Regions from separate parts of the Homo sapiens genome. Here region 1 is linked to region 2. The links are contacts of gene promoters, found by promoter capture Hi-C in blood cells and fetal thymus (Javierre and others, 2016). All regions are on one chromosome and are shown on one strand. The core of a region is centred on a gene start or on the middle of the fragment in contact, and the rest is flanking DNA. Distances in the headings are between cores, read along the strand shown.

The links. Contacts are between HindIII fragments. The CHiCAGO score rates a contact against its expected background, and 5 or more counts as called.
Region 1: the fragment with the promoter of ZYX here is called in contact with the fragment with the promoter of AGAP3 in region 2 in 1 of 17 cell types (M0 macrophages); the score reaches 6.2 in M0 macrophages.

The regions. Positions count from the first base shown.
Region 1 is chr7:143,378,666-143,384,301 of GRCh38, reverse strand. ZYX (zyxin) reads right to left here and starts at 2,957. Exons shown (of 10, transcript NM_003461.5): 1 at 2,893-2,957; 2 at 2,523-2,745; 3 at 1,855-2,054; 4 at 1,617-1,709; 5 at 980-1,501. The coding sequence starts at 2,730. It overlaps FAM131B-AS2 (FAM131B antisense RNA 2), which reads left to right and starts at 3,277. Exons shown (of 2, transcript NR_161353.1): 1 at 3,277-4,036; 2 at 4,193-5,147. It overlaps MIR6892 (microRNA 6892), which reads right to left and starts at 1,616; the gene lies at 1,502-1,616. It also overlaps a transcript of FAM131B not described here. RefSeq lists silencers at 2,438-2,487, 2,518-3,547 and enhancers at 4,048-4,137, 3,261-4,161, 4,318-4,397. The HindIII fragment of the contact is 8,995 bases long and covers 1-5,636 here.
Region 2 is chr7:151,084,567-151,090,510 of GRCh38, reverse strand. AGAP3 (ArfGAP with GTPase domain, ankyrin repeat and PH domain 3) reads right to left here and starts at 4,036. Exons shown (of 18, transcript NM_031946.7): 1 at 3,439-4,036. The coding sequence starts at 3,769. LOC124901778 (a long non-coding RNA gene) reads right to left here and starts at 1,508. Exons shown (of 2, transcript XR_007060595.1): 1 at 346-1,508. RefSeq lists enhancers at 1-472, 473-983, 2,481-2,640 and silencers at 2,861-3,130, 3,491-3,560, 3,927-4,016, 4,067-4,316. The HindIII fragment of the contact is 3,352 bases long and covers 1,926-5,277 here.

The sequences.
Region 1 (5,636 bases), core at 1,708-4,207, 7.7 Mb after region 2:
CCTTTCCTAATTTGACTCCCCGAGTTGACTCCCTGGTCTGAGTGCCTGTGACTCACAGGATTCTGCAAAGCTCACTGGCCCTTGGCATTTCTTCCTATGCTGTGTCCGAGTGTAGGTAGACATCAACACTATCAGTGGACTCTGGATGCTTGGACTAGATGACCATCAGGGTCATCTTCGTCACCAGAAATTGGACGATCTTATTTCCTGAACTAGAAGGCAAGAACCATTTTGTAATTACAGCTTTTCTATTTTGAGCATTCCTGTACTAGATACAGAACCCAACACTCTCTAGGTATTAGCTCACCCAATCTTCACAACCACTGTATGGAGTAGAGAATGTTAAAGATTGAGAAACTGAGGCTCAGGGTTCACCTAACTTGCCCAGTCTAAGGACTTGGGAGAAGCTGAGCCAAGAATTCCATTCCAGGTCCATCTGACACCTGAAGGCTGAGCTTCTTGCAGAGATCTCTTCCCTCCCATGTCCTACCCTCCTGGGCACAGAGCACAGTGCCTGGCACGTGGTGGATGCTGGCTCAACCAGTGTTTACTGGGGCTGTCTCTTACCTCCAAGCCCTCAGGCAGAAAGAGTGCTCAGAGGAGCAGGGAGATTAACTCAAGACCCAAGAATGGGAAAAACCAAGGTGGAACTGGTGATCTCATCCCTCCCTTTAACTTTCTGGGGTAAAGGCACAAGGAAAGGTCCACCAGATCCTCCTAATTCAGAGCCCATGCTCTCTGCGCCGTCCCAGCCAGGCCCCACCCAGCCCCACACCCAGCCAGGCCTCTCCTCCAGAGGAGCATTTTCCTACCATTGTTCCACCAGGCTAACCCCAGAGGATGAAAATTCCTATCCCGCCACCCCGCAACCCCCGTGTCCACCCTGACTCTCCAATCACCTTATGCTTATGCTCTGGCTCCTGACCCAGCCCCGCCCCAGTGCCCTGGTACCAAGCCTTGTCCTATCACCATCCCTCACCTGGTTTTGGTTCTGAGCCGGTGGGGGCACGGGGTGCTGCTTCTCCTGCACTCGGGGCTTCTCCCTCTGCTGGGCATAGGTGAAGCTGGGAGGTTGAGGGGAGCCTGTGCCAGCAGAAAGAGCTTCGGGGTGCCCCAATTTTTGATTTGGTTGTGACCCAGATCCACCTGGGGCTCCAGGACTGAACTTGGAAGCCACAGGAGTAAACTTAGGAGTCACTGGAGAAAACTTAGGGGCTGGAGCCGGAGATGAGGCTGGGGGCCCTCGGGGCTGGGTGTTAGCCAAAGACACAGGCTGGGTCTGGGACTGGACATGGAGTTGGACCTGAGGCTTGGGCTGGGGCTGGGGCTGAACATGGAACTGTGTCTGGCTCTGAGCCGGAGCCGGAACCTGGGGCAGAGGCTGGGAGCTGGAAGGGGACTTCCAAGGAGGCAGGGGTGCTGTGCCCCCGGCTGCAGGCTTGGTACTGGACTTGGAACTGAATGGAGTGGCCACTGGTGGGGGCACATATCCAGATGACACCTGCAAGGGGTGGGAGAGGGAAGAGAGATGCAGTCAGGAGGACACCATCCTCCTTAGTTCTATGCCCAGTCTCTCTGGCCCTGAGCCCTGCTTTTCCTACTCTCCGGTCCCTTACCCGGGCTTTGAAAGGATCATTCTTGGTCATGTCATCCAGCAGTGAGGACAGAGAGTCGATCTCCAAATCAATACTGCTCACCTTCTCCCTGGGCTAGAGGGTCAGAGGTCAGAGCACCTATTCCATGCCTCTATCCCCCCACCCCCAAGGCAGAGGTGCAGGGGAGGTAAGAAGAAAGGGCCCTCTTCTCCTCTCCTTGGGGGTGTCCAGTGCAGCCGCCCCTCCCAGGCCTCCGTACCTGTGGTGGGGGCGGTATGGGGGCCTCAGGCCCTCCCTCCTCCTCCGGAGGAGGCGGCGGGGAAGGGAAGATCTCCTCCTCCAGAGGCGCAGGGGGAAATGATTCCTCGATCGGGGGAGGGGGCGGCGGGAAGGCACCTCCCAGAGCACCCTCTGCATCGTCGCCATCCCCAGCAAGGGGAGGTGGAGGCAGGGGAAAGTCTGGGGTAGGAAGGAGAAAGACGTCGGCCGGGGTCCCTCTACCCCTCACCCAAGCTCCCCTCAGTTAACCGCTCTAACCCCTAACCCAAGAACTCTCTCAGGGGTCCCAGAGCGTGTGGGGAAGCAAAGGAGGGGCGCAGGGCGCCCTGGGAGTACCAGGTCAGGAAAGGCCGGGCGCACTGCCGAGGAGTGGTGCAGCTCCCGTTACACTTCGGAAAACGGACCCGGAGGGGAAGATTCGTGCCCCACATTCCCGACTCCCACTCCCAGGCGGGGGACTTGGAACGGTCCCAGGAGCCCTGGCTCCCAGCCACGAGCTCCACGATGAGGTAAGAACATCTGCTCGGGACAGGGTGGCTGCGCCCAGCCCCCTCGGCAACAACCTTTCCAGACATCCCCAAATTCCCGAAACGACTGCCCCCCACCCCGGCTCCTGCCGGGGTACATTCCCCAAGCCCCGCCGCATACCTTCCGGGGGCGGCGGGGGAATCTCGCCCACCCGGCCCATCTGTGCGCGCTGGGCCCCGGGTGCCGGGGGAGGCTCGCTGTCCCCGGGCCGGAAGGGATTCACTTTGGGCTTTGGGGCCACCACAGGGCCGAACTTCTTCTGCGGGGCGTAAAAAGCCGGAGCCGAGACCGAAACGGAGATCGCGGGAGACGGGCGGGGGGCCGCCATGGCCGGGCCGGGCTGCTGGGGTGGGTCGCCGGGTTACGCAGCGCGGAGCCGGGCTCAGGAGCCCCAGGCGGTCCCAGCTCCCCTTGGTGACCCCCACTCGCCCCCTCCCGGCGCCCCGCGCCCCCTCCCCGTGGGGCCGCCCTGCCGCTCCCCGCGCCTCACCGCAGGCCGGAGCGTGCGCGCCGCGTCTCGGGTGGCCGCCTCGGCGCCGGGTCCGCAGACTCTGCGTCCCGGTCCGGAGCAGCCTCCAGCCGGGCGGGGAGGGACACACGGAAGGAGGAGGGAGGGAGAAGAGAGGGGGCGGGGAGAGAGCGGCGCCCAGACCATACAAGGAGCGGCCCGGAGAGGGGGCGGGGAGAGCGGGGAAGGGCGGACCAGGCAGGAAACTCCCCCAGGAAGGGGCCCTGATCCTGCCTCAGGCCGGAGGCTCCGCCGAGGTCCGCTCGCCCCCACCCCACTCACTGCCGCCCCCGCCGCCCCAGCCCGGCTCAGACCCCCACTCCCTGAGCACAGGCCTCTGATGTCATTTCCTGACCTGCCTCCCCCTCCCCGCCCGACCCGCGGGTGCCCGAGATCTGACTCACCGTCCCCCTCCGGGCTTAGCCGGCGGAGGTGGGGCGGGTGCCGCCGAGGTAGCCACGCAGCCCCTGTGCGCCTCCGGCCCGGCCCAGCGACCTCCTCTCGGGCCTGCCGTTACCCGGTCCCCTCCTGCCACCACCCGCTACCCGGCCACCCCGAGTCCGCCTGGGGTGGCCGAACGTATGGAGCTGGGCTCCAGGGTGCACGGGGATGGGGGGTGAGGAGCGGGGCGTTCTCCCTCCCAGCACCCCCCAGCTGACTCTGTGCCCGGAGGGGGTGTGTGAGCCGGAACCTCCAGCATTCTTGGGGATACGAACTTCCAACGCTGGGCAGCCTCTTAAGGCTTCTAGGAATTCGCATCCCCAGCGCCCCAGCCAGCAGATCGGTTGCGAGAGGGACCGTTCGGGTCCGCGGGGCCGGGAATGGAGGTGGGAGGGCGGGGCCGAGGCGGCGGCCGCCTGCGGACTGGAGACCCGGGAGGACGGACGCGGACGCGGGCTGCTCGTCTTTTACGGCCCTTCAACGCCCACCACGACCCACTCCTCTTGGAGACCCCGGGCGACGGTGGGGCTCTTGGGCATTCTGAGACTGCGCTTGGTGGAGACCCCGGGCGACGGTGGAGCTCTTGGGCATTCTGAGACTGCGCTTGGTGGAGCCCCCTACTGGCCAGACTGGATTTCTCAGCCTGCGACTCAGCCCCAGGCTACACGAAAGAAGCCAGACCTGGGTAATTCTTCTAGTTCTTTTTTTTTTTTTTTTTAATTGCACTGGGAAACTTCCCCAATCTCGGCCCCAGTTCTTTCTCCAAACTAAGGAGTCATGGCCTTTCGCCCGCTAGTCCAGTATGCACCCGTAGGCGCTTCATTTTCTCTCCTCTTGTCAGCTTTTACTGCCTCCTGAGGCCTTCGTCTTGTTCACACTGAGTGTCCAGTCCCTCCAAATCCGGCTACACTCTACTGGCAAGGAGCACCTGGGCCATGTTTTAGAGATCATCCGAGGACTAACCCCAAAAGTTTATGAAGAGAAAGCAGAGGCCGAGCTGAAGAGATGGACCCGGGTCACACCCAGGTAAAGGCAGGATCTAAACTGAAACTGGTGTCAGATCTGGTTGCCTTGCACCCCTGATATCAGGTGAAGCAACACTGGGCAGGATAGAGCAGAGTGAGGTCAGAGTGTGAAGATCCAGCCTGATGCCCAAACTGACGCCTCTTCATTCTCCCCTGCTCCATCTGTAAACGTCACGGTTAATCCATCTACTTTATTGCATTATATAGAGAAATAAATGAAATGTCATAGCTGTATGCGCTATATGACTCAGTATTATTATTCAAATTCCAGTTCTGCCCAGAATGAAAATTCTGACCTGGTTACACTAAGGCGTTTTCCCCCATATGTCCCTTTCTGGGTTGCCAGGCAGATCTCTCAGGGGCCTCGGTATGTGCAATGTCCTCTCTTTCCTTCAACCTTATTAAGTCTTTAATTATACCTAGGACGACATCTTAATCACTTTTGCAAACCCCACTGATCTTTTTCTCTGGCATCTCATTGTCTTTGTCACCACCAGTATTTCTCACAGCCACAGGCATGTGTGGCCATGTATGATGGGTAGTACGCAGTGCACACCTCTCTGACACGCTCAAGCCAGCCCTGGGCCTGTCTCTGAAGACATGTTAGAAATTTGATACTGGATTTCCTGTGCATGTTGGAGATTGTGTCTTGGGCTTCACAGACCAAAAGTCTCATCACAAATCCTTCAAAATATGGCCCCTTTGGGGAAAAAAAGATAGTTAAGAAGATGATTTCAAGATAACTCATAGGAATAAAAGCTATCTACCCTCTAAATGTCTCCTTAAGTAATGTGCGCGTGCAAAATAGAGTATGTGTAATTGTTAGGCAGCTGAACCTATTTTTAAATCAGAAATAGAAGAGTGCGTAGGCAGGCATAGTTTTACTGACAACTAAGAGCATTCAGAATGCGGAATATTCAAACAAAGACTTTTAAGCCAGCCATTCTAAATACAAGTAGAAACACCCAGAGTATCCCAGAAGAACAGAATCACTGCCCAAGATGTCTCAAGAGGAGCAGCAGAGTCAGTGCTCTTAAAATGAAGACAATGGGCTGGGCGCAGTGGCTCACGCCTGTAATCCCAGCACTTTGGAGGCCAAGGCAGGCAGATCACTTGAGGTCGGAAGTTTGAGACAAGCCTGACCAACGTGGTGAAACCCAGTCTCTACTAAAAATACAAAAATTAGCCTGGTGAGGTGGCGGGAGCGTGTAGTCCCAGCTACTGGGGAGGCTGAAGCAGGAGAAGAATCGCTTGAACCCA
Region 2 (5,944 bases), core at 2,787-5,286:
GGGCAGGCAATCTGTGAACTGAATGAAAGTGAGTGGGGTAAGGGTGACAGTGAGAACGCTCTGCTGGCCAGGCCAGGCCGGCTGGAATGCTCGAAGTAACTGTTTAAAAAAAAAAAAAAAAAAAAAAAAAGCCCTAGTGGGAAAACGATGGAGAAACCTGAGTAAGTCACCCAGCTGACAAAGCCCAGCTCCGGCACACATAATAGTAGCCATATGGCACACACACCTAATAGTCAGGTCCACTTCCACTTCCAGGCGGGAGCCCCCCCCCCCCATCTGGGAACTGCCAGCAGGGATCCCAGGCCCTCCCCAAGCCCCTGCTCCTCCCCTGTGCCGGGCCCTCACCTGCACACAACGACTGGGACCAGCAGGTCCTGGAAAGATCCCGGGCTCCTTTGGGGCTCCTGGCTAGCTTGGTACAACATCCTGCGCTCCACGTGCCCAGTGTCCCCATTTGGACTGAGGCCCTCGTTCTCCTGCATCCCTCTTTCTAGGACTCAGCCAGGAAACCCAAGCTGTCAGGGAGCGCTCACTGCAGGTGAGTGCCAAGCCGGAAGCGGGCTCCTGTTGAAGGCCTATACTCTCCCTGGCTGTATCCGCTTGGCTCCCTCCCTTCTCTGAGCCTCAGTTTCCCCACTAGTGAGGTGAAGGTGGCTCAGAGGCTCTGCACATAGTGAGCCCTCCAGCTCTCCCTCCCAGCTGAAGGCTGTACTTCTTCCACTCCCTAAGGCCAAGTAATGGGCAGGTTTTCTCTTTCCTTGGCCTCTGGTGGGAAAGGAACTTTTCAAAATGGTCTCCCTCTCCTCAAATCCTGTCCTGAAACACAGGAAAGCCAAACATCCCCTGCTTCCTCCTGTCCTGGACACGGGGTCAGAAGTGACTGTGAGTGGCAGAGACTACAGGAGGCCCAAGTGCCCACTGCACTTCCTCAGAGCCAGATGGATCCTGACCGCAGGTCCCACGTCACCTTCAGAGCTGGGACAAACAAACCCTTCACCGAAGTCTAAACAGAGTGAGGGAGGCTTTGTTATACACTCGGAACTGCCGCCCCTTTCCACCGAGAGGCTTAGCCCCAGGAAACACAGGACCCGGCTCCCAGCTGACACTGTGTTTATGTAACAGCCTAGGTCTGTTCCGCCCTGGGGCTGGGGGTGGAGGGCTGGGTCTCAGTCCAGCCTCAGACTGTGCTCGGAAACGCCCAGGGAGTCTGCGCCTCTCCCTCCTCGCAGAAAGAAGGTGGGGACACCGCTTCGCAGGACAGAAGCAATATGGTTTGGCAGATGGAGAGGAGTTCTATCGCAGGAAGGATATAGGGCAGAAACTGGAGAAGGAGTGGTTTTTTTTTTCTTTTGAAGACTGCCTACAGCAGAAAAGTGGGAACGCAAGACGGGTGAGGTGGATAAAGATGACGGTGCCAGGAGAGGCTGGGCAGGGGGGAGGGAGGGACAGCAGGGCAGCAGGGCAGCAGGGCCCAGGAGTGGGAACAGCAGGGCTGAGAACGGATGTGTGAGCCGCGGCTGGGTCGGTCTGGTGACAGTGAGACACCGGCTCCCGGGATTTCACGAGGGTGAGGCCGAGCTTCCAGGCCTAGTAGACGGAACCATGGGGTATTTCCAAACCGCAATGGAGAAGTCGGTCAGGGGAGGGCTCTAGGAGGGGAAATTCTGCCTGTTGTGTTAAATTTAAGATCAGGCAAAAAAAACTCAAGGGCGCCCCAGGAATCAGCCTTCACATCACAAAAGATGCTCAACCAGAGGCTCCCCTGAGCTGGGGAGGAGGGGTCGCTGCTCATCAAGCTGGAGCCAGGGGAGCCCGGAAACCTCTCCCTGCTCTGGGAAAAGCTCGGAAGCAGATGTGCCCCCACCCTCCTGTGGCCGGCCCACGAGGCTTGTCGCCCTCCAGAAGGAGCTGGGGGAAGGTAAGCTTGGAGCAAATCAGGAATGTCTTTACTTCCTCCAAGGACAGTGAAGCTGCAGCAACGATGTCTCTCCCGCCTCCACCCTCTTCAGATCTAAGAGGAAAAATTGGTCATCTCCTGTCTTTGGGGCCCAGGGCTCGCACAAATGCCATCTCCTAGTCCCCAGCCACAGCGGTGATTCAGGCCATTTACTCAGATCCACGTTAATGAGTTTTTTCTGTCACCTAATTAGTTCACAGAGAACTCAGCCTTGAGAGGAAAGAAATAAGAACGGGTTGGGAAAAGGCAGAAGGAAGTCAGACTGGCATGTCACAACAAAAGATAGAACCCAGCACCACATGGGGTCCCCCCAGACCCAGTACTTCTTCCCCGGCTATGGGGACCTCTGAAAGCAGAAAGGGAGGTGTTCAGGTGCACTATCCCCCAGAACCTCAGGCAAGCAGATGAAGCTGGGAGTGGGGCCCTAACCTTAAGGCCCAAGTCAGGGACAGGCCCCTGCCCATAACTCCATGTTATCGCAAAAGGCCTTGGCTCTCACTGCATTTCCACTGAGGCCAAACCCACCACCTGCCGGTGGGCGTCCCCTTTCAAACAGAGCTGGGGGAGGAAGCAGATGGCCCAGGGTGAGGCCCATCTGTCCGTGCCCGCTCGAAGGTCACCATGCCACCGGGGTGCCTGCGGGTGCCTCCAGCACCCACCACACCAGGGCTTGCGAGGCATCTGCCAGCAGCGTGCCACCACTTCCTGTGCCCTCAGCGGTCGAAAGTCCAGGGCCTAAGGGCCCAGAGAAAAAAGCGCTAGGCAGCGCAGTGGCCGGGGGTTTCCGGTCCCCGACTCCGGGTGCGGTGTCCCTGGCGGTCGGTCAGCACCCGGCTGCCCAGCAGCTGCCTCCAGACCGAGGAGCCGCGGATCCCCGTCAGGCTCATGACCCGGCCAAAGCGCGGATGGACCTGCCGGCGCCTCCCACGCGGTCGCTGAGCCTCAGCCCAGCGCCAGGCCCGGCCCGCTCCCGCTTGGCCGCCGCGGCGTAGGGGGTGTGCGTCGGGAGAGGGCGCCGCGGCGAGCGCCACCCTCCGGGCCTGCGGGCGCTGGGCCCGGGAAGGCTGCCATCCACTAACGCGAGGCTCCGATCCCCCGCCCCACTGCGGAGCAGGGCCCGGGCAGCGGCTAAGAAGCCTCCCCGGTCACGACCCCACCTCCCCGCAGCTGAAGCCCTCTGCCGCGCCCACCTTCCCCGGCCAGGCCTGGACAGATCTGGTCCCGGCCCCCCCAAGCGACACCACCTTCGCGCCCTGGAACACAGTCAGCAGAAAACCCCCAACCCCAAAGTGTCCCCGAACGAGATATGGCGAAGCTGCCCGCCGGTTCTGCAACACAGATCGGCAAACCTCGTGGCCTGGTCCTCAAGCGCGCAAGGACCCCCGACAGGGAGAGCATGGCCAGGCACGGCCTGTGGAGCCCTCGGCCGGCGCCGGAGAGGCCACTGCGCCCCGGCTCCCGCAGCCCCCGGCTCCGCTCACCCTCGATGGAGATGACGTGCTCCCGGATCTGGTTCTGCAGCGCCAAATCCTCGATGCGCTCGATCAGGTCGTAGATGGCGTAGATATTGGGATGCACGGACTCGAAGCGCTGGATCTCGGCCCGGATGGCCGCGGAGTTGGAGAGCGCGAACTGCTGGGGGGGCCCGCCGGCCAGCTGCTGCGAGGGGCCGCCGCCGCCCCCGGCCCCGGGCCCCGCGCCGCCGAACTGCCCGCCGCAGACGAGCTGCTGCGCGGCAGCGCCGCCGCCCCCCGGAGCCGCCAGGCTCTGCTGCTGCTGCGGGCTCTGCCCCCCGCCCGCCTGGAAGTTCATGGCTTCGGAGCCGTGGGGCCCGAGGCGGGCCCGGGGCGGCGCGGCGGAGGCGGCGGCGGCGGCGGCGGCGGCAGCGGCGAGCGGGAGCGCGGGGCTGGCGGGGCCGGGACTACTGGGCTGGCGGCGCGGGGCTAGCGCATGGAGCCGGGGGCCGGGGGCCGGAGGCCGAGGCCAGGAGGCGCCGCCGCGCACGCTGTGGCCGCCGCTGCCGAGCGCTTCCCAGCGCCGTGATCCCGCTGCCTCGGAGCAGCCTCCAGCGGCAACAACAACGGGACCGGGAGCGCGCGGCCCAGGCCCTCCCCCCGCGTCATGCGCACGCACCGCCGCCCCCGCCGGCTCCGGCACACGCAGCCCGAGCCCCCCTCCCCGCCGCCCCCGCCCCTCCTGCGCGCCGGCCCGGGCGCCCCCGCCCCTCGCTCGCTCGCTGGCTCTGCAGCCTCCACCCCCGAGCCGCGCGCTCCAGCCCTGGCGCCCCGGCCCCTCCCACTCAGCCTCGGCCCTTCCGCCTCCTCACCAGCCCCCACCCGCATTGCCTCGAGGGCCACCCTCGCGGAGGGGACAGCTGCCCTGGTCTCCTCCCGCGCCCGGCTGTCGCTTTCGCCTCCCTGCGCTGATCTGGGCGGGGTGTCGGATCTCTAGGCAATGCCCAAACAGTGCCCTGCGCCTGAGGGTGCTGCTGACCGAGGCTGATTGGCCGAGGAGTCCGCCCAGGCCCAGCTGCTCCTCGCTTACAGCGTCCCGCCTTCAGTGCGGCATAGGCTCCCCTGTCCCCAGGCTCCGAGGTCAGCCCTAGAGACCACCCTGCTGCCGGAGTTTTCTCCCTGTCTCCCTGCCCAGGCTCTCCACTGCCGGCTGCAGCAGTGCTCTCCTAAAAGACCCTCCCCCTGCCGGACTTGGGAGATTAGCTAAATGCTACCCGACCCCATTGGTACATAGAGGAAGAAGAGGGAGGGATGAAATAGTATATGCCTTTCTCCCCTACTCATCCCATTGGAGAGACCAACCAAAGCCCACGTGGCTCTCAATTTTTCTTGTCCTCACCCCTTGTCCATCCTGTCCTTTCACTCCCTCTAGGGCCAGGGAGCTCCCTGAAATGTCCCAGTTCCTCTGCAGTCCCATTGCCAAAGTGGGCTGCAGTTCTGTTAGCCCCCTCCCCCCCACCAACACACACACGTTTCCTAAAACCTACAAGAGGTGACATTTGCAGAGGCCGCAGCCAATAAATCTGCCAGAGATGTTGCAGGGTATCTGCTACCCCCAGATATCCTAGGGCATCAGTGACACACATCGTCCTTCTTACGCACACTTCCACTTCCCTGGCCAAGCTGGATCTTTTCCCAGCATGAAGCTGTCCACTGTTTGATTACCCACACAACTCAGCCCCAGAACCAACCCAGTCACTATTCCCGAGTTCCTTGTACCTTCCAAAGCACCTGGTGCAAGCTAATCAACACACAGGGTCTCCTAAGCTCCTGAGGAACCTGTGTTTCTATCTCCCTGCATAAGCTTAAGGATATCTTGTGCCCTCTCTGGGTTTCATCTGCGAAATATAGTGGTTGAACATAAAACCTAGTTCTGATGTTGTATAATTCTAAAAGTAACATCCAACATCTCTTTTAGGTGCTTAATTAGAATTGACAGCAGGAAGTAGCACCAGGTATACCTCCCAAGAGAGACACTAAGAGCAAAGAGCTCCTCAAATGTGTTGCCCCAGCAACTAGCACACACGTGTTATAGCACTGTTGGGCTGTTCACACGTCTAGCTCTTCTACTAGTATATGGAGCCACATGAGGGCAGGAAGAGGGTCTGATTCACCATTTTATTCCCAGTATCTTGCACAATGCCTGGGATATAGTGTGTGTGTGTGTGTGTGTGTGTGTGTGTGTGTGTGTGTGTGTAATTTTTTTTGAGACGGAGTCTCACTCTGTCACCCAGGCTGGAGTGCAGTGACTCGATCTCAGCTCACTGCAACCTCCACCTCCCGCATTCAAATGATTCTCCTGCCTCAGCCTCCCGAGTAGCTGGGATTACAGGCGCCCGCCACCACGCCCAGCTAATTTTTGTATTTTTTTTTGTAGAGACAGGGTTTTACCATGTTGGCCAGGCTGGTCTCGAACTCAGTGATCCGCCTGCCTTGGCTCCCAAAGTGCCAGGATTACAGGCGTGAGCCACTG